4 separate regions of the Homo sapiens genome follow, and regions 1, 3 and 4 are each linked to region 2. The links are contacts of gene promoters, found by promoter capture Hi-C in human tissues and cell types (Jung and others, 2019). All regions are on one chromosome and are shown on one strand. The core of a region is centred on a gene start or on the middle of the fragment in contact, and the rest is flanking DNA. Distances in the headings are between cores, read along the strand shown. Region 1 has its middle 25 kb from the start of TGM3. Region 2 holds the start of TGM6 (transglutaminase 6). Region 3 overlaps SNRPB (small nuclear ribonucleoprotein polypeptides B and B1). Region 4 overlaps ZNF343 (zinc finger protein 343).

The links. Contacts are between HindIII fragments. The study calls those that stand out against the background at their distance.
Region 1: a contact is called between a fragment that was not itself captured here and the fragment with the promoter of TGM6 in region 2, in 2 of the 25 tissues and cell types used here (aorta and dorsolateral prefrontal cortex).
Region 3: a contact is called between a fragment that was not itself captured here and the fragment with the promoter of TGM6 in region 2, in 3 of the 25 tissues and cell types used here (H1 embryonic stem cells, bladder and mesendoderm cells).
Region 4: a fragment that was not itself captured here is called in contact with the fragment with the promoter of TGM6 in region 2 in 2 of the 25 tissues and cell types used here (H1 embryonic stem cells and small bowel).

The regions. Positions count from the first base shown.
Region 1 is chr20:2,267,814-2,273,828 of GRCh38, forward strand. No RefSeq gene overlaps it. Among named protein-coding and RNA genes, the nearest start is that of TGM3, 25 kb to the right of the region's middle. The HindIII fragment of the contact is 4,728 bases long and covers 1-4,211 here.
Region 2 is chr20:2,378,636-2,385,089 of GRCh38, forward strand. TGM6 (transglutaminase 6) reads left to right here and starts at 2,266. Exons shown (of 13, transcript NM_198994.3): 1 at 2,266-2,340. The coding sequence starts at 2,334. The HindIII fragment of the contact is 30,296 bases long and covers 1-6,454 here.
Region 3 is chr20:2,462,755-2,467,203 of GRCh38, forward strand. SNRPB (small nuclear ribonucleoprotein polypeptides B and B1) reads right to left here. Exons shown (of 7, transcript NM_003091.4): 3 at 2,954-3,065; 4 at 993-1,145; 5 at 335-473; 6 at 1-7. It overlaps SNORD119 (small nucleolar RNA, C/D box 119), which reads right to left and starts at 293; the gene lies at 198-293. The HindIII fragment of the contact is 5,678 bases long and covers 361-4,449 here.
Region 4 is chr20:2,479,489-2,485,668 of GRCh38, forward strand. ZNF343 (zinc finger protein 343) reads right to left here. Exons shown (of 6, transcript NM_024325.6): 6 at 2,329-5,168. The coding sequence ends at 3,673. Among named protein-coding and RNA genes, the nearest start is that of SNRPB, 12 kb to the left of the region's middle. The HindIII fragment of the contact is 4,668 bases long and covers 2,329-6,180 here.

The sequences.
Region 1 (6,015 bases), core at 598-3,097, 110 kb before region 2:
CAGAGAATAATATAAGCACCTCTATGCAAATAAACTAGAAAATCTAGAAGAAATTCCTGGACACATACACTCTCCCAAGACTAAACCAGGAAGAAGTTGAATCCCTGAATAGACCAATAACAGGCTCTGAAACTGAAGCAATAATTAATAGCCTACCAACCAAAAAAAGTCCAGGACCAGATGGATTCACAGCCGAATTCTACCAGAGGTACAAAGAGGAGCTGGTTCCATTCCTTCTGAAACTATTCCAATCAATAGAAAAAGAGGGAATTCTCTCTAACTCATTTTATGAGGCCAATATCATCCTGATACCAAAGCCTGGAAGAGACACACAAAAAAAGAGGATTATAGACCAATATCCCTGACGAAAATCCATGCAAAAATCCTCAATAAAATACTGGCAAACCAAATCCAGCAGCACATCAAAAAGCTTATCCACCACGATCAAGTTGGCTTCAGCCCTGGGATGCAAGGCTGGTTCAACATATGCAAATCAATAAAAGTAATCCATCACAAAAACAGAACCAATGGCAAAAACCACGATTATCTCAATAGATTCAGGAAAGGCCTTTGACAAAATTCAACAGTGCTTCATGCTAAAAACTCTCAATAAACTAGGTATTGATGGAACATATCTCAAAATAATAACAGCTATTTATGACAAACCCCCAGCCAATATCATACTGAATGGGCAAAAACTGGAAGCATTCCCTTTGAAAACCAGTACAAGACAAGGATGCCCTCTCTCACCACTCCTATTCAACATAGTGTTGGAAGTTCTAGCCAGGGCAATCAGGCAAGAGAAAGAAATAAAAGGTATTCAATTACGAAATGAGGAAGTCAAGTTGTCCCTGTTTGCAGATGACATGATTGTATATCTAGAAAACCCCATCGTCTCAGCCCAAAATCTCCTTAAGCTGATAAACAACTTCAGCAAAGTCTCAGGATACAAAATCAATGCGCAAAAATCACAAGCATTCCTATACACCATTAACAGACAAACAGAGAGCCAAATCATGAGTGAACTCCCATTCACAATTGCTGCAAAGAGAATAAAATACCCAGGAATTCAACTAACAAGGGATGTGAAGGACCTCTTCAAGGAGAACTACAAACCACTGCTCAATGAAATAAAAGAATTTACACAAACAAATGGAAGAACATTCCGTGCTCATGGATAGGAAGAATCAATATCGTGAAAATGGCCATACTGCCCAAAGTAATTTATAGATTAAATGCCATCCCCATCAAGCTACCAGTGACTTTCTTCACAGGACTGATAAAAACTACTTTAAAGTTCATATGGAACCAAAAAAGAGCCCACATTGCCAAGACAATCCTAAGCAAAAAGAACAAATCTGGAGGCATCATGCTACCTGACTTCAAACTATACTAAAAGGCTGCACTAACCAAAACAGCATGGTACTGGTACCAAAACAGATATATAGACCAATGGAACAGAACAGAGGCCTCAGAAATAATGCCACACATCTACAACCACCTAATCTTTGACAAACCTGACAAAAACAAGAAATGGGGAAAGGATTCCCTGTTTAATAAATGATGCTGGGAAAACTGGCTAGCCATATGTAGAAAGCTGAAACTGGATCCCTTTCTTACACCTTGAAAAATTAATTCAAGATGGATTAAAGACTTAAATTTTAGACGTAAAACCACAAAAACCCTAGAAGAAAACCTAGGCAATACCATTCAAGACATAGGCATGGGCAAGGACTTCATGACTAAAAACACCAAAACCAATGGCAACAAAAGCCAAAATAGACAAATGGGATCCAATCAAACTAAAGAGCTTCTGCATGGCAAAAGAAACTACCATCAGAGTGAACAGGCAACCTACAAAATGGGAGAACATTTTTGCAATCTACCTATCGGACAAAGGGCTAATATCCAGAATCCTCAAAGAACTCAAAAAAATTTACAAGAAACAAACAACCTCATCAAAAAGTGGGCAAAGGATATGAACAGACACTTCTCAAAAGAAGACATCTATGCAGCCAACAGACATATGAAAAAATGCTCATCATCACTGGTCATCAGAGAAATGCAAATCAAAACCACAATGAGATACTATCTCATGCCAGTTAGAATGGCAATCATTAAAAAGTCAGGAAACAACAGATGCTGGAGAGGATGTGGAGAAATAGGAACGCTTTTACACTATTGGTGGGAGTGTAAATTGGTTCAACCATTGTGGAAGACAGCGTGGGGATTCCTCAAGGATCTAGAACTAGAATTACGATTTGACCCAGCAATCCCAGTACTGGGTATATACCCAAAGGATTATAAATCATGCTACTATAAAGACACATGCACACGTATGTTTATTGCGGCACTATTCACAATAGCAAAGACTTGGAACCAACCCAAATGTCCATCAATGATAGATTGGATTAAGAAAATGTGGCACATATACACCATGGAATACTATGCAGCCATAAAAAAGGATGAGTTCATGTCCTTTGCAGGGACATGGATGAAGCTGGAAACCATCATTCTCAGCAAACTATCACAAGGACAGAAAACCAAACACCGCATGTTCTCACTTATAGGTGGGAATTGAACAATGAGAACATTTGGACACAGGGTGGGGAACATCACACACTGGGACCTGTTGGGGGGTGGGGGACTAGGGGAGGGATAGCATTAGGAGAAATACCTAATGTAAATGAGGAGTTGATGGGTGCAGCAAACCAACATGGCACATGTATACCTATGTATCAAACCTGCATGTTGAGCTCATGTACCCTAGAACTTAAAGTATAATAAAAAAAATTTAAATTTAAATTTAAAAAAAGAAAGAAAGAAAAGAAAAGAAAAAGAAAAGAAAAATATTATCTGGGATTTGTTTCAAAATAATTTGAGAGAAGGGAATAAACGGAGGAGGCATTGGTGGTTGGGTTGGTAGTTGCTGGGGCTAAATGATGGTGTTCATGGGATTGGTTACACTATTCTATTTTTGTGGATGTTCACAAATCTCCATAATAGAAAAGTTTTTAAAATATATGCTACACAGATATACCATTTCTCATCTATTTGGCAAAAATTCAAAAGCTTAACAACACACTATACTGATGAGGCTGTAAGAAAATAGAAACTCTTACATTGCTGGCAAGAATGCGAAATGGTAAAACCCTATTGGGTGAATCTGGTATTATTTAACAAAATCATATATGCTTTTATCCTATGATCCAGCATTCCTATTTGGTACTGTAATGTGAAACATTTTAGGTATGATAAGACTTCCGGACCATTATAATGTACATTATAGGATAATGTAAATATGTTGATATGATTAATTATATTTAAAATAAAAGAAAACATTTATTTGTTATTAGGAACCAAGACTTTCATAGTGAGAGAAAACAGGTACAAACAAAAAACAGAAGAACAAACTGTGTACAATACGTCTGAATTAGAAATACTATGAACTAAATAATTCCTGAAGATATGATAGTAATAGAAAATGACTACTTTGTAATCCCAATGTCTCACTGATTTACACAAGCATCTTCAATGGACACTAAAACCACTAGATGATATGCTGTTAGGAAACAGAATATTCATAGTCTCAAAATATCACCCCACAGTTTTGTTACTAATTACAAACAATAAATGTATCTTTACATTGGAGAGATCTTATAGCCCCCACCTTTACCAAATAACTTGGTATCTATTGAATCTAGAAGCTAGGTGCTAATGGATACCACCTCTCTCTAAACAAACCAAGTATGGTATGATTCCACTGACAAGAAATATCCAGAATGGGCGAATCCATAAAGATAGAAGGTAGATTACTAGTTGCCTAGGTACAGGGAAATGAGTTGTTGTCTAAGAATGGGAGGGTAAAGGGTTTCTTTGGGGGAGACACAAATATTCTAAAATTGATTGTGGTGGTGTCCACATAACTGTGAACACACTAAATCACACATTTTAAATAAGTGAATTATATGGTGTGATACCTCAATACAGCTTTTTTAAAAAAAGAAAAAAATTATTAATAAATAATGTTGCCATTTGTGTCTAAAAAATAGGTATACACTTGAAAATGAATAAAATAGCCCATAAAATTATACTTCAGAAGCTGGTAACAGTGGTTGCCTCTATGGAGAGAATCAAGGTGCCTGGGGCGCAGGAGAGGGGAGGGAGACTTACTTTTTTAAATTAAGGTATAATTTACATACACTGCTATTCGCCCCTTTTAGTATACATTTCCCCCAGTTTTGACAAATGCGTGCAGCCATGGGGGCACACAGCAATGTACATATAGACTGCTTCCGTCACCCCTAATTTTCTCCTGTCCCTCTATAGTCAAGCCGTGGCACCACCCTCAGCCCCCGACAGCACTGATCTGTTTTCTGTCCCTACAGTTTTGCCTTTTCCATTATGTCACATGCGTGGGCTCAAACAGATGTAGCTTCTGAGAGACTTTTTTCTGCATTTTTTATTTCTTGAATTTTGTTTTATGTGTACATATTATCTATTCAAAAAATAGGTAACAGTTTTGGACAGCAAAAATCATCCTTATAAATAATCCATGGGCTAGAGAGAAAACCCAGTGGAAATCATAAAATATTTAGAACTGAATGATAATGAAGGTATTCATGAAATATCATTAATGAAATAGGTTTTGATACTATTATACGTACTGGAAATATCAAAACCCATGGATGCAGCAAAAATAATATCTGGGGTAAAATTTATAACCTTAAGTATGTTGATCAGAAAACAAACACTGCCAGGCACGGTGGCTCATGCCTGTAATCCCAGCACTTTGGGAGGCCGAGACAAGCAGATCACCTGAGGTCAGGAGTTTGGGACCTGCCTGGCTAACATGGCAAAACCCCGTCTCTACCAAACATGCAAAAAATTAACCGTCAGTGGTGGCACGTGCCTGTAATCCCAGCTACTTGGGAGGCTGAGGCAGGAGAATCGCTTGAACCCAGGAGACAGAGGTTGCGGTGAGCCAACATCGCACCATTGCACTCCAGCCTCGGCTACAAGAGTGAAACTCCGTCTCAAAAATAAAAGAAAAAAAAATAGAAAACAAACATTGTATTTTAAAAGATGCTAATGTGTCCTAAAAAGCCAAACAAAGCAGAATAAATGCAAAGATCTAGAAGGATATTATTATGAAATAATTAATAACAACAAGAATAAATGGAGATAATAAAAATACATGTGATTTGTATATTGATGCACAAAAGCAACTTAGGGTGGTGGAATGGACATTGGACTTAACACATTTATGCCGGAGGTCACAAATTTTTTTGTGTGAAAAATCAGACCTTGGCGATGACCTTGAGCAGTAGGATACAAATAACTCCCACAAGCTTAGCGTTCCAATAGTAGAACACTAGGCATCAATAACTTAAGACCTCTGAGACTCAGTTTCTTCACCTCCCAAATGGGGATAAAACCTCCTTTTTCCCAGTGGTAGGTAGGACTTACACCAATAAGGATTTAGCCGACCAGGCGTGGTGGCTCACTCCTGTAATCTCAGCACTTTAGGAGGCCGAGGCAGGTGGATCACCTGAGGTCAGGAGTTCGAGACCAGCCTGGCCAACATGATGAAACCCCATCTCTAGTAAAAATACAAAAAATTAGCCAGGCGTGGTGGCGGGCGCCTGTAATCCCAGCTACTTGGGAAGCTGAGGCAGGAGAATCGCTCGAAACTGGAGGTGGAGGTTGCAGTGAGCTGAGATCACACCATTGCACTCCAGCCTGGGCAACAGGAGCAAAACTCTGTCAAAAAAAAAGAAAAGGATTTAGCCATGGTAGAGCCCTTCCCTCTCTGTGCCCCAGCATAGAAGGTAATTACAGTGGGGATTATGGTGTGCCAGTAGAGAAGTTTCTCTTTAAGGTTTAAGACATGTGTTCCCTTACCTGAGTTTCTTTCTTCTCTACTACTTCTTGAATCTTTCCTTTCTTCCTTCACTGTTGATCTACACTAGAGAGGTTCTGCAGAAGAACAACCTGAGGTCACTGAGCTCTAGG
Region 2 (6,454 bases), core at 1,016-3,515:
AAAAGAAAAGAAAAGAGAGCACCATGTTTGGTCAAGCAAAAAGGACGGGTTACAAAACAGCTTCTGTGTATGATGCGATTCATGTAAATTTGTTGCCATGTGTATACAGCCGTATGCATGTATACTTTCTTCACTCCCTGTATTGCTTGAATTTTGTACCTGAGTATGTATTATCTCTATAGCCAGAAGAACAATTAAATTGCTTTTAAAGCATCTGATTATTCCCCAGGCACAGATTTTAATTTGTGAAGCACCCACTTTATGCCTGGCATTGGGGTACCCTGAGCCGCCCAAGGCTTTGGCTCCCGTCTGTCATCTCTAGCCTGATCATCAGAATCAGAGAATGTTGGAACTGGTAACACTTAGTTCACACCCGTATTTTACAGATGAAGGCAATAAGGCCCAGAGAAGGTAAGTGACCTGCTGAAGGTCACACAGCCAGTTTGGCCCAGAGATAACAGAACCCAGGACTCTACTGCCAGGCTATGATGCTCACTTCTAAACTGAGTATGGGCCGGGTGCAGTGGCTCTCACTTGTAATCTCGCACTTTGGGAGGCTGAGGTGGGCAGATCACCTGAGGTCAGGAGTTTGAGACCAGCCTGGCCAACATGGCGAAACTGTCTCTACTTAAAATACACAAAAAATTAGCCGGGCATGGTGGCACACGCCTGTAGTCCCAGCTACTCAGGAGGCTGAGGCAGGAGAATTGCTTGAACCCGGGAAGTAGAGGTTGCACCGAGCTGAGATCGTGCCGCTGCACTTCACCCTAGGTGACAGAGCGAGACCCTGTCTCAAAAAAAAAAAACGAGGAGTATGAATTATTATTTGGGGTCTCGAGCAGTGGGGCAGGCAGTGATTTTGATGCCCTGTCTTCTGGGAGCTCCCGTCCAAGCAAGCCCAGGATGAAAGATAAAAGGGCCCTGAATAAGACCATCATTAGTGGGGAGGAGCCTGACCCTGCATAGGCAGAAAAGCAGCTTCAGCAGGGCCCAGGGTCTACAGGGCAGCAGCCTGCAGGGTGTTGAGGAAGGAGCTGCCCTGGGCTGCTGCCAGATGTCAGTAATTATAAGGCTATGTGGGTCTGCAGACAGCTCATTAAAGACGCTTGATCTGCGTGAAACCAGGAAGCAGAACTCAGCCTCTTTGCCACTTTCTGTAAGAAATCCAACCACATCAAACACTTTGGGGTTTTTATGCAGTTTCCTGAATGTTGGGGTGATCCCAGGGAGCGGCCTCATCCTACTGTGCTCAGCACACGGTTGTCTCCTTACCCTTCCTTGTCTCTTTCCCTCGATTCTACCCCCTCCCACTTCCCCTTCCTCACTGGCCCAGGCCACATCCAGCCTTCGATAGCCCCAAGTCATCCATCAAAGCATTTCTCCGGCAAAAAGAAACCTACCCCACCGGCTTCCATGAAAATAAAATCCCCTCTATTTCATTAACAAAAGACCTCAGATGCCTTGAATTCCAGCACCTTCAAGCCCAGAATCTTAGACTTTGAGCTGGAATGGCCCTGAAGAATAATTGAGTCCAATCCCTTTAGTTTGTAGGTAGAAACACCAGGGTTCCAGGAGGGGAGAGGTCTTGTCCAAGGTCACGGGACACCCATGGCCACCAGGCCTCTAAGCTCCTGGCTGGAGGCCACTCACAAAGTCAGGGCAGATGGGCCTAGCTTCTGAGTCAGAACCAGCTCTCCCCTTTTTCTTATCTACCTCCTCTCAAGAGTCTAGTGTCCACCAAGGAAGTCTAGTGGCCCTGAAGGAGGATCATGGACCTCTGCCTCTTTAGATGCCTGCAGAACAGAGTGGAGCTGTGGGCCCAGGAGTCTTCTGCTCTCACCCAGGAGGGGAGAGGGAGCCACAGACTGACCCGGCACTGCAGCGTGCAACCATGTACTTCGGGGTCCTGGCGCTGAGCCTGTTTTTTCTCATTTGAGGGTTGTTGTGAGGGCTAAGAATGGCCAACCATAAATCCGAGTTCCCTCAGTCTTCTCTCTTTCCCCGTTCTTTTTCTTGCCAGGCTTGTGACCTTTCTGAGCCTCAGTTTCTCCACAGTCCCATTCGCAACTCCGTGTTTCCAAGGTCTCTTGGCAGGAGCCACTCCCACAGTGAACCCCTCTAGGTGCAATTACAGGATGATTTTGTGTCTCGTGGGTGTCGCTGCTAGGGTGGAGGGCCACGCCTCCTCTTTTGAATTCTGACTTTCCTGCCTAGGAGTGTCCCAAGGTTTTCCTTGTTAAAATTGGTCTGGCTGGCTGCTGTGACGCGCCACACTGTCCTGACGGTGCACACACTGCTGTGTGGAGGAACAGAGGAGTCCAGCTGGCCTTCACATGGCAGGTAAGTGGGCAGAGCCTGGGGCCTTGGGACACCAGGGCTCATGAGGGGGGCTTCAAGAAACACGGGTCTGTGGGATGACGTTTGATCATCGATTGTTAGGATTTTACAGCTGGATAGTCCACCATGAACACATGAACTCTTCGTGTGGATTCATGAGGCCCAGGATGAAAAAGCCAGCTTTAAGCCACCCAGCAAGGCCATGGCCCAGGCTGGCTCAGGCGCTGTCTCCTGGGCTGGGGCCAGGTCTCACCCCTGTGCCTCGGAGGACTGAAGGAGGCAGGCACAGGAAGGCAGGGGCAGAAAAAAGAAAATCTCCTTGCACCCCATGCACATTCCATGGATCCAGAGACGTTTCTGGGCATAGTTGGGAATTGTGGCCTGCGTGGGAAGGAGTGAGAGGCCCCCACCGGCTGCATCCTCGCCTGATTCCCACCCCAAGCACTTGAGGGCAAGAGCAGCTCTGGCTCAAGTGAAAACAGCTATATGACCTTGAGCAAGAAAATTTGCCCTTGGTACCTCTGTTTTCTGATCTGTGTAATGGGGATTATAATGCAAATTATCTCACAGCCTTGCTGTGAGGAGTTGGTGAGACCACGTGTGCTGTTCTCCCACCACACATCTCAAGTGGGGACTTGTAAACAGTAGACTCAGAAAATGTGGGTCGGGCACAGTGGCTCACGCCTCTAATCCCAGCATTTTGGGAGGCTGAAGGGGGTGGAATTCTTGAGCTCAGGAGTTTGAGACCAGCCTGGGCAATGTGGCAAAACCCCGTCTCTACAAAAAAATACAACAATTAGCTAGGCATGGTGGGGAACACCCAAAGTCCCAGCTACTTGGGAGGCTGAGGTGAGAGGATCGCTTGAGCTTAGGAGGTAGAGGCTACAGTGAGCCAAGATGGTGCCACTGCACTGCAGGCTGGGCAACAGAGTGAGACCCTGTCTCAAAAAAAAAAGAAAGTAAGATAATGTGTCCCCCACGACCTCAATATAGTGAGCAGCAAACTCCCTCTGCAAGAACTTGTCTTAGATGCTGGGGCCCGGTAATGAGCAAGTCAGCAGAACCAGGGGTCCTACACTCACAGGTATTCAAGGGGTGTTTCTGAGTCTGTGTCTGCCAGTTTTAATTGTTCAGCATTATGTGACAGTTTTATGAATCAAATATTTTTTTAACTTTCAAAGGCAGATATTTGAATTTCCTCATCATAGTCTAGCTTCCTCTTCATATTTCCTCCTGGCAGTTAACAGCATTGCTGGACGTGTTGGGCCCTTCAGGCTCCTAGGATAGGTCTGTTCTGAAGACCAGGCCTTGCCAACACCAGCTCACAGCCCAGACTGCCTGTTTCCAGAGCTGGGGTTGCCTCCCTGATGGCCCTGGTGCAGAGGGGATTGCCTTTGTTCCTCCAAGATCTGCTTCTCAAAGTTCACCTAGATGATCCCTCTTCCCTGGGCCTTTGATAACCTATCAGACTTAAACTTGACAGTGCGAAGGTTAGTTTCTGAGGAAGGAAAAAAGTTGATGATGATGCCCATTGTCAGGTCTGTAACTAACTTGCTGGGTTCCTCTCTCTGAAGCTCTGTTTCTCCGTCTGTGAAATGTCAGCATTGGAGTTGTCATGCCTATGTAAATGGACTATGTGTTGGATTGGATTCAATTCCTGGGTCTTCTGGGTCCTCTTGGCTTCTTGGGAGGATCTGTTCCTCAGAGCAGTAGGTCCTGCCTACCACACACTCTGTGCCTGAATGACTGAGACATCAGATCCTAGATGGAAAGTGTATTCATCTTCCTGGAGCTCCTTCTATCCCCCCTCCCTCACTCCATCCATGGTGGACATCCCTAGTTGACCCCAGAGCTCTTCCCTCTGGAGCCTGGATGTGGCCCCAGAATGCTCAACCCAGCTCTTTAAGTACCAGTTGATCAGTGTTGGCAAAGGAGGTGAGACCCTTTTGCCATGATTAAATTACAATCATCTTTCAGCTCAGAGATTCCAAGAATTGAGTGGAATACTGTATGTGAGGCTGGCTCTGGCTGGGACATTGGGTTGGAGTTGATGAGTCACTGCCTCCTGGTGAAAGAGAGGCCAGCAGCTTCCAACAAGACCAGGAAGGAAAGAGAGATGGGGCAGTGGCCCCAGAAAGGCCCCAGGCAACTCTCGATAAATCATTTAGTCATGGAGTTCAGGTGCTCATGATGCGTACTAAGCATAGGATTATAATGGGGCCCATTAAAAACCAATTATGCTTAGTCCAGAGTCTGGAAGATGCCACTGGCTTCAACAGAGTTTCCAGGGCTCAAGCCCACTGGCCTGAGACAAAGAATTGGGGAGGATTGTATCATTCAGCTCTCTGGTATCACCCAAGGGCAGGAGGAGGAAGATGGATGAGCTAGGCTTGGGGGTGGGGATGGGTGGAGAGCTAAGTCGGCAGGAGGCAATGTTCTGCACATGGACCCTTCCCTTTCTTAGGTGGAGCTCTGGGGCCAGCTGGTGAGCAAATTAGTTGGGGAGGAGGTCAGAGGGCCAGAAGTGATGGGCAGGGCCTGACTGTCAAGGACCTTCAATGCCAACAAGATGGCTGTAGATTCCATGGTGCTTGAGCAGGGAAAATGACATGCTGACACTCAGAAAAGTCCCTTCTCCTCTCTGAACCTCAGTTTCTCCATAGTGATGGGATGGATTGAACAGGTTGAGCTGAAAAACACTCTGAAGCTGTTGGGGCCATACAGTCGCTTAAGCGAGAAGCAAAGAGGGGAGAATAACAAGAAACCCCGTGCATGTAGGAATTGGGGAGGGGAGGACCAAAGTGATGGGGGAGATGTGGGAAAGGAGTGATGATGTAAAAATCCCTGTTTGTAGGCCGGGCGCGGTGGCTCACTCCTGTCATCATAGCACTTTGCGAGGCCAAGGTGAGCGGATCATGAGGTCAGGAGATCGAGACCATCCTGGCTAACACGGTGAAACCCCATCTCTACTAAAAATACAGAAAATTAGCCGGGCATGGTGGTGGACACCTGTAGTCCCAGCTTCTCGGGAGCCTGAGGCAGGAGAATGGCATGAACCCGGGAGGCGGAGCTTGCAGTGAGCAGAAATTGTGCCACTGCACTCCAGCCTGGGCGACAGAGTGAGACTCCGTCTCAAAAAAAAAAAAAAAAAAAAATCCCTGTTCGTAGAGCTCATCACTGTGGACCCAGCACCAGGCTACGTACCTGATGAATAGGGAGACGTTGATCCTGGTGGAAGCCCATTGCCCTAGCGTGTTTATTAATGGCTTCTCCTTTCACTCTCAGAATTTCCTGCTTTAAGTGGTGCATTTTATCACTACCCTATGTATAATTACTACCCCATTTAATCCTCCTCGAAACCCTAGACGAAAGATATTATTATTGCCACTTTCCAGAGAAGGAAATCGGATCCTCAGATCCAGGGCCACACAGCCAACAAGTAGATGATTCAGGATGTCATGAATTGGCAGAGCACAGGAATGGCAGCTAGGAGGTCTTGTGTAAATAGTAATGATGATACCACTCACATTTCCTGAGAACCTAGTATGTGCCTGGTACCAGTCTAAATACTCTATGTGAATTATTTCACTTAATCCTCCCAACGTGAGGAAGCGGGTATGATCATCACCCTCATTGTCACCAGGAGACTGAGTTTCAGAGCTCACTCACTTGCCACACAGCCAACGAGGGGCAAAGCCTGCATGTGAGCTCAAGTGTGTGCCTCTGAAATCAGGCTTCTAGTTGCTGTGCAGAGTGAAAGGAAGCGCTGAGAAGACGATGAGAGGGAGAAGGGGAGGAGAGCAGACAAGCTGGAGGGGCTATGAGGCTTGGGGTAACAGGCAGGTGGAGGGAGCACTCTTACCACATCCTTTCCCTGTGCCTGGGGGGTACAGCCTCAGCCCTGGGGTTGGCGAGCCTTTAGCCTTGGGCTGGGAGCTCATCCTGCATACCCCAAGGGTGAAGGCCCCCAGAGCTGAAAACAGGCTGCCAGTTCTGTCCTCAGGGCCTTGGGTTCACTGTCAACTGGAGCAGTCTTAGAGCAGATGCTGCCTCTCCCATCCCCTCCATTGGGCAGTGGGTGAGCTACCTCTCAGAGGTACGGCAAGCTGGGACCATG
Region 3 (4,449 bases), core at 1,950-4,449, 85 kb after region 2:
ATCATGCCTGCAAGAGAAAAGCCCCAAGAATATAGCTCAAGTGTCTATCTTGAAAAGGTAGCAAAAAAACTACAAAGCTTTCCACCAAGTTCTGAGATAGATGGACCATTCCACCCTCTCAGCAGCTCCCAGAAAACTGACATTTGAGCCTAACACCCAGGGCTCCCAATGGCTCTTGTCCACCTAGTCTCATCAGTCAGCCACGCTGGATCTCAGAGTAATCCTGCTTAATTATACAAACTCATCATCAGCTTCAGTCAAGGTTATATCTCATCATTAATCCAGCTAAGGCATCTTCTATCAATTAGCACTGGTCTCCTTATGGGCTCCTCACCTGGAGGGGGTGCTCCTCGGCCCATAGGTGGGGGAGGACCCCCACGGCCAGGTGGGTACTGGGTTGGAGCCCCGGCAATACTGGCTGTGGCAGCAGCTGCAGCGGCTGCAACAGTACCTCTTCCTTGTGGGGTCATCACCTAAGAGGACATAAGAAGAAAGAGTTAGAAGAGTACAGTACAATGCAGCTTCCCACTCTCCTCCCCAACTTGGGGAAGGACAGTGGGAAATAACAGACACCAAATCCCTTAATGCTACAACTCTCAGCACCAGACTTCCCATCCAAAACCACATGTCGGGAAAGATCAAGCTTGAATGCCCAACTCCCATCTTCTAGACCTGAATGTAAGCATGTCCAATCCAAGTGAGAGAAGGCAACTGCATTTTCAAATATGACTCATGATTTCAAATGCTGTCATGGAAATATTTTCCTTAAATACAGTTGGCTAATTCGTACATCTCTTTAATAGCATCAACATAATTTACAATGGCAACTTATCCTTTTCACTTGCTTCTAGGGCCATGTATAAACCACAGTGAAACACTGATAGTCTGACAATCACAGGTTGGTCACTCTGGACCCTTTTAAAACTATGGACCCTCCCCTTTATCCTTTATTTTAGCCACCAGGAGGTGGTACCCTTTCCCCAACTCCTCACCTGTTGGGATGGCCCGCCAACCCCACGGACTGGCCCAGCAAGTCCTGCAGGAGCCTGGGGCATGGGAACCCCAGCTGGGATTCCTCTGCCAGCAGCCCTGCCGATCCCTGGGCCCCCGGCAGCTCCAGCAAGTGGAACTCGAGCAATACCAGTCTGAAAAATAAACAAATATGCTCTGATGCCCAGTGATCTGAAGATCAGAAGTATACTTTGGAATATCATTGCCAAGAGAGCCCCTCGAAATAGCTTATAAATACTATCGAAATAGCTTATAAATACTACCTCTCCATGTGTGCCAACACCATTCTTCCTCCATCCAAGACTATGAGTTATCCCTGAAGCAGGGTAGAACTTAAGAGTAAGTCTAGAGAAACATGCCACAACTCAACCACCTATATGCACTCCTGTGAAAGTTAAACCAAGAGCAAAGGGCCAGGGTTCCACTCAGGGTTCAGCAGGCAAGGCATTAAAGGGACATGAGATCCATTCCCAGCTGATTCTAATCCGCTAGGTGACAATGGACAAATAATCCCACAATCCCGGGCTGAGTTGCCTTATCTGCAAATGACATGGTTATGGTACAACTGGTTGTGATCACAAAGGTTTATGATGGGTTATGTTAGACCAGCCAATTCTACTGGAAGTAGGTACTAAGAGATTTGAATATGTACATGGACTTTGAACCAAGATATGCTAACATCCCTTGCAGACATTTTTAACTGGAAAAGGCAAAAACGTAAAAATCTCCAAAAAAGAAAATGATTAGGATAAACTACTCTGTACTCATTTGAGAAAATCTCAGTCATTAACTTGACTTTAAAAGTGTTGAGCAACTAGAAAAATGTTAACATTAAGTGAAAACACAGAACAACATAATATATGCCCACTATGTGTTAAGTACAAAAAAATCCAGATAATATATGTGGATTTTTAAAAAGTTAAAAGGATTATTCTCTTTTGATTAAAATAACGTCTTGGCAGGGCGTGGTGGCTCACATCTGTAATCCCCGCTACTCGGGAGGCTGAGGCAGGAGAATCACTTGAACCCGGGAGGCAGAGGTTGCAATAAGCCAAGATCGTGCCACTGCACTCCAGCCTGGCGACAGAGCGAGACTCCATCTAAAAATCTAAAAAAAAAAAAAAAAAAAACCCTTCAAATGAAAAAGGGAAAGGGAAAACAAATTTGACTAGGTCTCTAAAGCCTGCTCTATTTCTATGTGTAGCTTGGTGTTTACAGAATCAAGACTGTCTGAGATCAAATGTCAGTTTCACCACTTAGTGGCTGTGGCACCTTGGGCAAGTTACTAAGCCCTGGTTTATTCTATTTATAAGATGAGAATTTATCTCTAAAGAGACCTAAAGGATCAAATAAAATACTGAAGTGGTTGGCGCAAGGTAGATTCTCAGTAACTATGAACTGTAACTGTACAAAACAAAATACACACATTTCCTATTGTTTCGGAGTTACAACTTTTTAAGGTCTACCTAGGCTTTGTCGTCACATTAAGAACTGACCCAGATGGCTTCAGGTGCTTCCTCCACTGACTCACTATGTACATCAACTGAGAAACAGGTAGAGCTTTAAAGTCTGAGATACCCAAATTCTAGTTCCCCTTTTCCACTTCTTTCTTGCAGGGTAACCTCTTTTTTTTTTTTTTGTCTTTTTTTTTTTCTTCCTTTTTCTGGAGAATGGGGTCTCGCTATATTGCCCAGGCAGGTCTCGAACTCCTGGGCTCAAGCTATCCTCCCGCCTCTTGCCTCCCTGAGAGCTGGGATTACAGATGTGAGCCACCGCGCCCGGCCTCTTGCAGGGTAACCTCTTTAAGATTTCATTTATTATCTGAAAAAGGGGGCAAAATCCAGAGGATGCCTGTGAGAACTGCAATGAAACAGAATCTAACACAGAGCCTGGCTCACAGTAGGGCCTCCCCTCCTCCACAAGGCTTCCTGCTCTGACTTACATCTTTGGGAGGAGGTCCCTCTACTGTCATTGAGACCAGATTCTCCCCTCGCAGCAGCACCAGACCGAGGACTCGCTTCTCTTCCCTTTCTGCTTGTTTGGAGTTCTTTGGCCTAAAGAGAGGTTTAGAAGGAACAAAAAAAGTGTTAGAGGTGGGTAAAGTTCACCTGCCTAGTGGCCTCCAAGATTTGCTTATACTGCATCTCCTAACAAACAGTACACAAACTTTCCCAAGATAGCCCTCCTGGATAGTCTCTACAGGCTGAACACATAACCTCTTAGGTGGCTATCTACCTGTTTCCTACCATGCCAAGAGGACACACTGACCAAGAGATAGGACAAGGTCAACAAAGCCCAGCCCGGGCCCAAATGCTATTCCACAGCAACCGTGAAGGCCCTTCCCTCAGCCAAGTCTTCTTTCTTAGGACCCTATTCCCTCCCTTCAGCTTAAGGTCTTGCCAACATCAGGAGGCTGCCTAAACAATTCCAATCAAATGACTCCCACCCACCTCACTTACGTGCAGTGTCCTTCTAATATCAATTCAACCTCACAGGCCTATAATTCTGCCCCTCATCTTACATCAGAAATAGGAGAAGCCATAGAAGGAAAAGGTTAAGAGAAATTTCACATACACAGAAATTGAAATTTCATATCTGTTCCTCAAAAGCATAAAAACAGAAACCCCCAAAAAGCAACAACCAGAAAAAGATGAACAAAATATAAATGTGAAGTAGGAAAAATAACTGCAACAGGATAGGAAAGTGGGGAAAAAAGCTAAAGCTAGATCCTAAAAATAAAGGGGAAAAAATAGCCTGATTTAAAAAAAGAACTCAAAAGATTTTGTTTTGATATTTTACAGTATATTAACTGGTTGTCTGTGGATGGACAGTTTTTCCCTTTTTTGGCTCACATTTTCTTATTTTTTAAAATAATAACCATGTATTGTCCTTTCATAATTAGAAAAAAACCCTTCGGGGTATTTTAGTTTCTATTCATAGACTTCTTTGTATTTTCAAAAATATTTTCCAATAAACATTTTTTATAATCAGGAGGGAACTTTGGAGTAGCTCCACGCTCATCTGTTGGCCCCTCTCTAATACGTACCTGGCACCAAGGCATCCCTACCACATTTTTAAACTATACTTCTTGACCTTGGGTCACAGAAGAAATCAGCCCCAAGGAGAATCAAAGGGAATTCAAAGTGAGTGACAGAATAATATGGACACTGCATATGACAAAAGAGCTGCTGGCCACGGAAGTCACATCATCTTTTTGTGCCTCAAGTAGCCTTGAATGTAAAACATGATGGGAAGCTAAATCATATCTTTTAATGGGCCAAAAGCTTAAGATCTGTGAGACTCAAGGCAAGGGAGTTAGCCAATAACTTACGGAATTGTAGCAAAGTAGACAATATCTCCAATTGTTTGTATAAATGCCAACAAAAATCACTGGCCCCAAACCCACATGGGGAGCTGAGCACTTACCCTGAAGAGGGT
Region 4 (6,180 bases), core at 3,413-5,912, 100 kb after region 2:
AAAGAGGTGGAGCTCAAGACTTCTTGGAGTGAGGCTTAGATGGTGAGGCCAGGAAGGATGCAGGTAGCAATCTGACTTTAGTTTGAGTCCCCCAGTTCTCTAAAGTACTCCCCACCCCACCCAATCTGGTCCCCTCATTAACAGGACTTGTTTGGATGCTGCAGGCATTTGAACACCCATCTCATGTTGGAAATAAGCTCTACACAAAAACTGAACTCTTCCTTCTTAGGCACCAAAGCCATAGTCCTGGAGTGGAGAATTTGCATCTCTCTTTCTTCTGAGAGAAACTCTAGTACGTTTCAATTCTGTTTCCTTCTGGGATGGAGTGGAAAGGTCCTGATAGTGACCCTTCCTAGAAACAAAGGAGGGGAGTCAGCACAGCCTGAGGAAGCCCCTTCCAGGGCTGGAAAGATGACATCTTTGCCCCTCTCCCTCTGCTGGGCTAGGGCAGGCAGCCCTTTCCCTGGGCCACATCTGAGGTCGCTATAGGTTATGGGGGATTTCAGTAAAAAACAATAATTCTGCATCATTTTTTTCTTTCCACTCCTTTTTTCAAAAGTAAGAGCTAGTTTTCTTGTTTGCTTTTTTCTTTCCCAATGGTAGGAGGAATGTTGGGATTGTCCGGAATGGGGAGGGCCTACCCCTTCCCTCTTCAAAACCCTAGAGATTATATGCCTGCATATACTTTTCCCTCAGTGGCCTCCAATTCTGATCAGAAGTTGGTGTTATAGGGGCAGTTCTGGCAAAGGGTGGGGGCCCACACTCCCAGACATGCACATCCTTTTCCCTCATCAGACCTGACTGAGGAGCCACTGCGTAATTGATGCTATGGTGTGAATGTCTCCTCCAAAATTCATGTTGAAATTCAATTGCCATTATGATGAGATTTATGGGTGGGACCTTTAAGAGATGATTAGGTTACGAGGGCTGAGCCCTCAAGAACAATGCCAATATCACAGGAGTGGATTAATTATACTGGAGTGGGCTCCTGATAAAAAGGGTAATTCCAGCCCCCTTTTGCTCTCTGTCTCACATATTCGCTTGCTCTGCTGTCTTCACCATGGGATGATGCAGCATAAAGGCCCCCACCAGGTGCTGGCACCATGCTCTTGGACTTCCCATCCTCTAGAACCATAAGCCAAATAAGTTTTTGTACATTATAAATCACTCAGTCTGTGACATTCTGTTATAACAGCAGAAAACAGATTAAGACAGCTAACTTCATGCCTGGGGGAGGCAAGTGGGGAGAGGCCTTGGAGCCAGTAACTCTTTCTTTTTTCATCCTCTCCTTGAATGAGGTGTCCAAAACACTTCATGCTTCTTCTGATTTTCCAAGCCTGATATGCATTTTATGGATCTTGCAAACTCCAATTGGGCAAACAAAGTTGCTGGAGCCTAGGAAGACCCTCTCCAGTGAATAGTTATTGGTCCAAGACAGAAAATCAGAGCCAGGGCATGTGGAGTTTATTCAAAAGTCTGGGCAATTTGGGCTCTGAGGGAGGAAGATTTTAAAAGGGTGTGGCTAAAGGGCAGATCCTTGGCCTGAAAAACAATGGACGGAGTATGGCTAGGTTGCCTCAGACCAGTTATTAAAGGGATGATGTGTGGGTATCATTAGCAGGACTGGGCCCTAGAATTGGAGGGCCAAGGGGACATGGTATCGGAGCTATGTTTAGGGGTCTTTACATCTATTATTGTTGATCTGACATGGGGAGTAGCTAAGAGGCCCAAAGCAATGACTCATGACTAGAGAACAGTTTGGGCATGGTTAAAGGACCTGCCTCTGCAATCTGGAAGGCTGCAGAGGGGATGTGGTTAAAGGGTCCCTGGAACTGGAGGACATGAGCAGATCATTAAGGACTGCAAAAATTCAGTGGAATAGAGAAGTATTCAGCAAAGACACCTGCAGAAAGAAAGAAAAAGAGAGAAGGCAAGATGGGGAGAGAAAGAGAAACACACAAAGAGAGAGAGAGAATACCTAGGGAAGGAAGCTTTCACAGAAGCTGAAGAAAGTGATCAGTCTGGAGAAGAGGCAGCCCAGCCCTGGAGACCTGGAAAATCCCCTCCCTGCAACTGGCCTGTCTCTAGAACCTAATCACTCCTCCACATGAAAAGGATCAAATTCTCCAAAAAAATCTATTAGATTGATTCTCAAGGGTTGAATTTATGCAGGAAACCCTGACTGTGAATTTGAATTCCTTGCACCCTTTCAGTCAGATGAGTGGCCAAGCTACACAGCCTGAACTTATTGAAGAAATTTTGAACTAAAACAAAGGGATAAGAAAACACGGGAAAGAACTGGTATATGAAAATAAAACAAGTTGATCATTTTTTGATTACTTAAATAAAGCCTGCTTTTTTATTTCATCTGATTCCAAGAAGTAGAAAAGAATGCTTATTTAACAGTTACTGCCATCTTCGCTCACATACAGAGTACATGGGGGAGTCAAGACATTTCCTGAAAATCCCTCAGAGGTGAGTGAGGTAGTGACTTGGGGTAGCAAGACTGTCCTCCTAAGTCAGTTGAGGAGTGACATCGGGATGAAGCTCCACCCACAAGCCCTGCCCACAGAGGTCTTCTCCCTGAGTGTGTCCTCCTTTAGTACAAGATGAGGTTTAACTTATTGCTAATGTGTTTCACATTTTCCCTCCCCACCCATGTAAAGCTTGTCCCAAAAAAGCTGTTCTTTGATGAGGACTTTTTCCTAAGTCCTTGTCCATTCTCCCCACACATGCAGAATTTCTATTCAATATACTCTGGGGCTTACTGCGGGGTGACTCATGGCTGAAGCCTTATCTACACTCCTTATATACCTAACATGTCTTAGAATCAATTATCTGGACAGACAACGAGACAGAAAATTGAGGATTCACTGGGGAGTGAGGGCAGGACTGGGCAGAGGAAGAAGCTGACCTGCAATGTGTCTGCAACCCAGTGATCCTTCAGTTCGATGGGGATCTCTGGATCTGGAATGACCTTCTGGAGTTGTCCCCGTTGAGTCAAGGGTTGGGGCCAGAAGGTACCCCTGCAAAGGTGCATTGCCCCTGTGGTGCATGCAGCTCCCTGTGGCTGAGAGTGAGTTCCAGAGCGGAGTGCATCTCTGGAATGCATCTCTGCCAGCAGCAACACTGTTCTCTCAAGCAGCTGGGGTGTTACCCCTGAAAAGGTCATCTGGGCAGAGCTCCACAGTGTCCCCACATGCAGATTCTCCCTGTGGTGTGTGATCACAAAAGCTTTGCCCATACATCCTACAAACAAAGACCTCCTTCCTGAGGGCCACTCTGTGCCTGAGTGTCCATTCTTTTACTGATGCTCCCCAACACTCCCCAGACAAGGGTGCTTTCCCCTGAGGCTGTCATTGGATGTCTGGTAAATGTTGATTATTGCTAAAGCCTTCCCACAGTCCCTACACATAAACTTCTCTCCTAAGTGTGTCCTTTTGTGCATGCTCAAGGCTGACTGATGGCTACAGTTGCCCGTACTCTATACTCATAAGGCTCCTCTCCTGAACGTGTCCCTCCCATGCCTGATAAGGGCTGACACATCTCTGGAACTTCACTCACAATCTGTGTACACAGGGTCTACTCCCCATGTGTCTCTCTGGGGTAACATGAGGCTTGACTGGTCACTCAGGTCTTGTTCATGACCCCTGCATACACAGGTTTCTCCCGTCAGTGTGTCCTCTGGTGTCTGATGAGATTTGACTTATGACTAAAGCCTCGCCCACACTCCCTACAAACATAATGCTTCTCCCCTGAGTGTGTCCTCTGGTGGACAAGGAGGAGTGATTTCCGGCTAAAGCCTCGGCCACACTCACTGCACACGTAAGGCTTCTCTCCTGAGTGTGTCCTCTCATGTACAATGAGGGTTGACTTGTCACAAAAGCCTCGCCCACATTCCCTGCAAATATAAGGCTTCTCATTTGAGTGCGTCCTCTGGTGTCTGATGAGATTTGACTTCTGGCTAAAACCTCGCCTACACTCCCTGCAGACATAATGCTTCTCCCCTGAGTGTGTCCTCTGGTGGACAAGGAGGAGTGATTTCCGACTAAAGCCTCGGCCACACTCACCACACACATAAGGCTTCTCTCCAGAGTGCGTCCGCTCGTGTATGATGAGGGTTGACTTGTCACAAAAGCCTCGCCCACACTCCCTGCAAACATAAGGCTTCTCATCCAAGTGTGTCCTCTGGTGTTTGATGAGATCTGAGTTCTGGCTAAAGCCTCGCCCACACTCCCTGCAAACATAAGGCTTCTCCCCTGAGTGTATCCTCTGGTGTTTTCTGAGGGTTGACTTATCACAAAAGCTTCGTCCACACTCCAGGCACACATAGGGTTTCTCACCGGAGTGTGTCCTCTGGTGTCTGATGAAGGATGACTTCTCGCTAAAGCCTCGCCCACACTCGCTGCAAACATAGGGCTTCTCCTCTGAGTGAGTCCACTGATGTCTATTGAGGATGGACTTACTTCTAAAGCTTTGCCCACACTCCCTGCACAAATAAGGCTTCTCTTCTGAATGTGTTCTCTGGTGTCTGCTGAGGTTGGACTTCTGGCTAAAACCTCGCCCGCACTCACTGCACACATAAGGCTTCTCCATCGAGTGTATACGATGGTGTCTGATGAGGGTTGATCTATCTTTAAAGCTTCGCCCACAATCACTGCAAATGTAGGGCTTCTTCCCTAAGAGGGTCCTCGGGTTTGTAATAAAGTTTGATTCCAGGTTATGGTCCGGTTCATACTCTCTACAGTTGATTGCTCCAAATCTCAAGGTTTCTAATTCCTTCAAGCCTTTGTCTAGCTGCACAGGGTTTGGTCTTTGGGCTGAGCTGGGCTCTGTTTCTACCACCATGTTGCCTTTTCTAGGACTTGCTGACTGTCTTTGGAGTGGGCTGGGGAATGCCCTTGAGGTTTCTCTCTCCTCTGTCCTTGCAGACCAGGGTTTGGAGCCACCTCCTCTCTCCTGACCTTCTGCATTTTCAAACCAACAGCTTACATGGGAATACTGCTGCCCCTGCTGTTTCCAATGCCCTGGGCTAGAATTCCCTGGATGGAAGTGATTTTCTGCACATAAGCCCAGGAAGATCTGAAGTACATGTTGACTGAGGAACTGCTGACAGGAGAAGGCCAGAAGGCAGGAGGAACAAGTGTAGATTTCTGGCTTTGGTTCTGCTGAAGAATGAAAGTTTTCTGTTAGAGTAGCCATAAGTAGGGCTGCTGAGTTGTTCTGCCTTGTCTTAGGACAGAGAATGTTTTACTGCCATGCCTATAATTGATAATATAAGTATAACACAATTTGCTTCTGAACAATGATTCCTTTACATTCCATCACATTTTCTATTGCAATCCAGAAAATCCATAACAAAAATATCTTGAGAAACCAGGAACCTCTCAAGTGAGTATTCTGCTCTGTAAACAGCTTCAATCATAGTTAGCCTTCTCCTAAGCCATAGACATTCACATTGGTATATACTGTCCACAGCTCTTTGTTCTGCTTGGAGATAGTGGTCTCTATGACACATGTGGAAATCTCCTTCATGACTTTTCTTATTATATAAAAAAGGGTCTGATAGACATAAAAAGTCCCTCATTCTGGAGGGCTTCCGAATGTAGGAGAAAGTGTATGGAATACTGGTTAAAGAAATTATTGTATATAAAACAAATATAAATTTCAGGCTGCCCACCTGTAAACAAAGACTTATTAGAAAATGCCAAAGTACTAGGTTCTCTACTAAGTATTATGAATTCAGTAATGAACAAGAAAGACATGGTCCATGATTTTAGGATTCTGGCACCAAGCCAAAACAACAAAATCTGCCTTTCTTTCCACTTTTCATAAATCAGTAAAAAGAAAAACTTTTCATTTACAGCAGCACCTGCCTACAAAATATCAAAACTAGATGTTGCATTTCATCACAACATGATCTATCCAACTGATGCTGAGAAATGACCACGTACTTGGCCCCAGACCCTACTGGGCCTAACTGAAGACTTCTGCCTAACTAATGAACACTGGAATCTTTATAATCAACTGTATCTGTCCTTAAAAACTCATCCTATCCTATCTGGAATGCTAGTTTTCAAACCTTAATTAGCATAACCATCATGAAACTGCTCCCTAACAGTAAAACCTTTTATTTTTCCCCCTTGCCAAACTATACAGTGAATTTCTTCACTGCTGTGT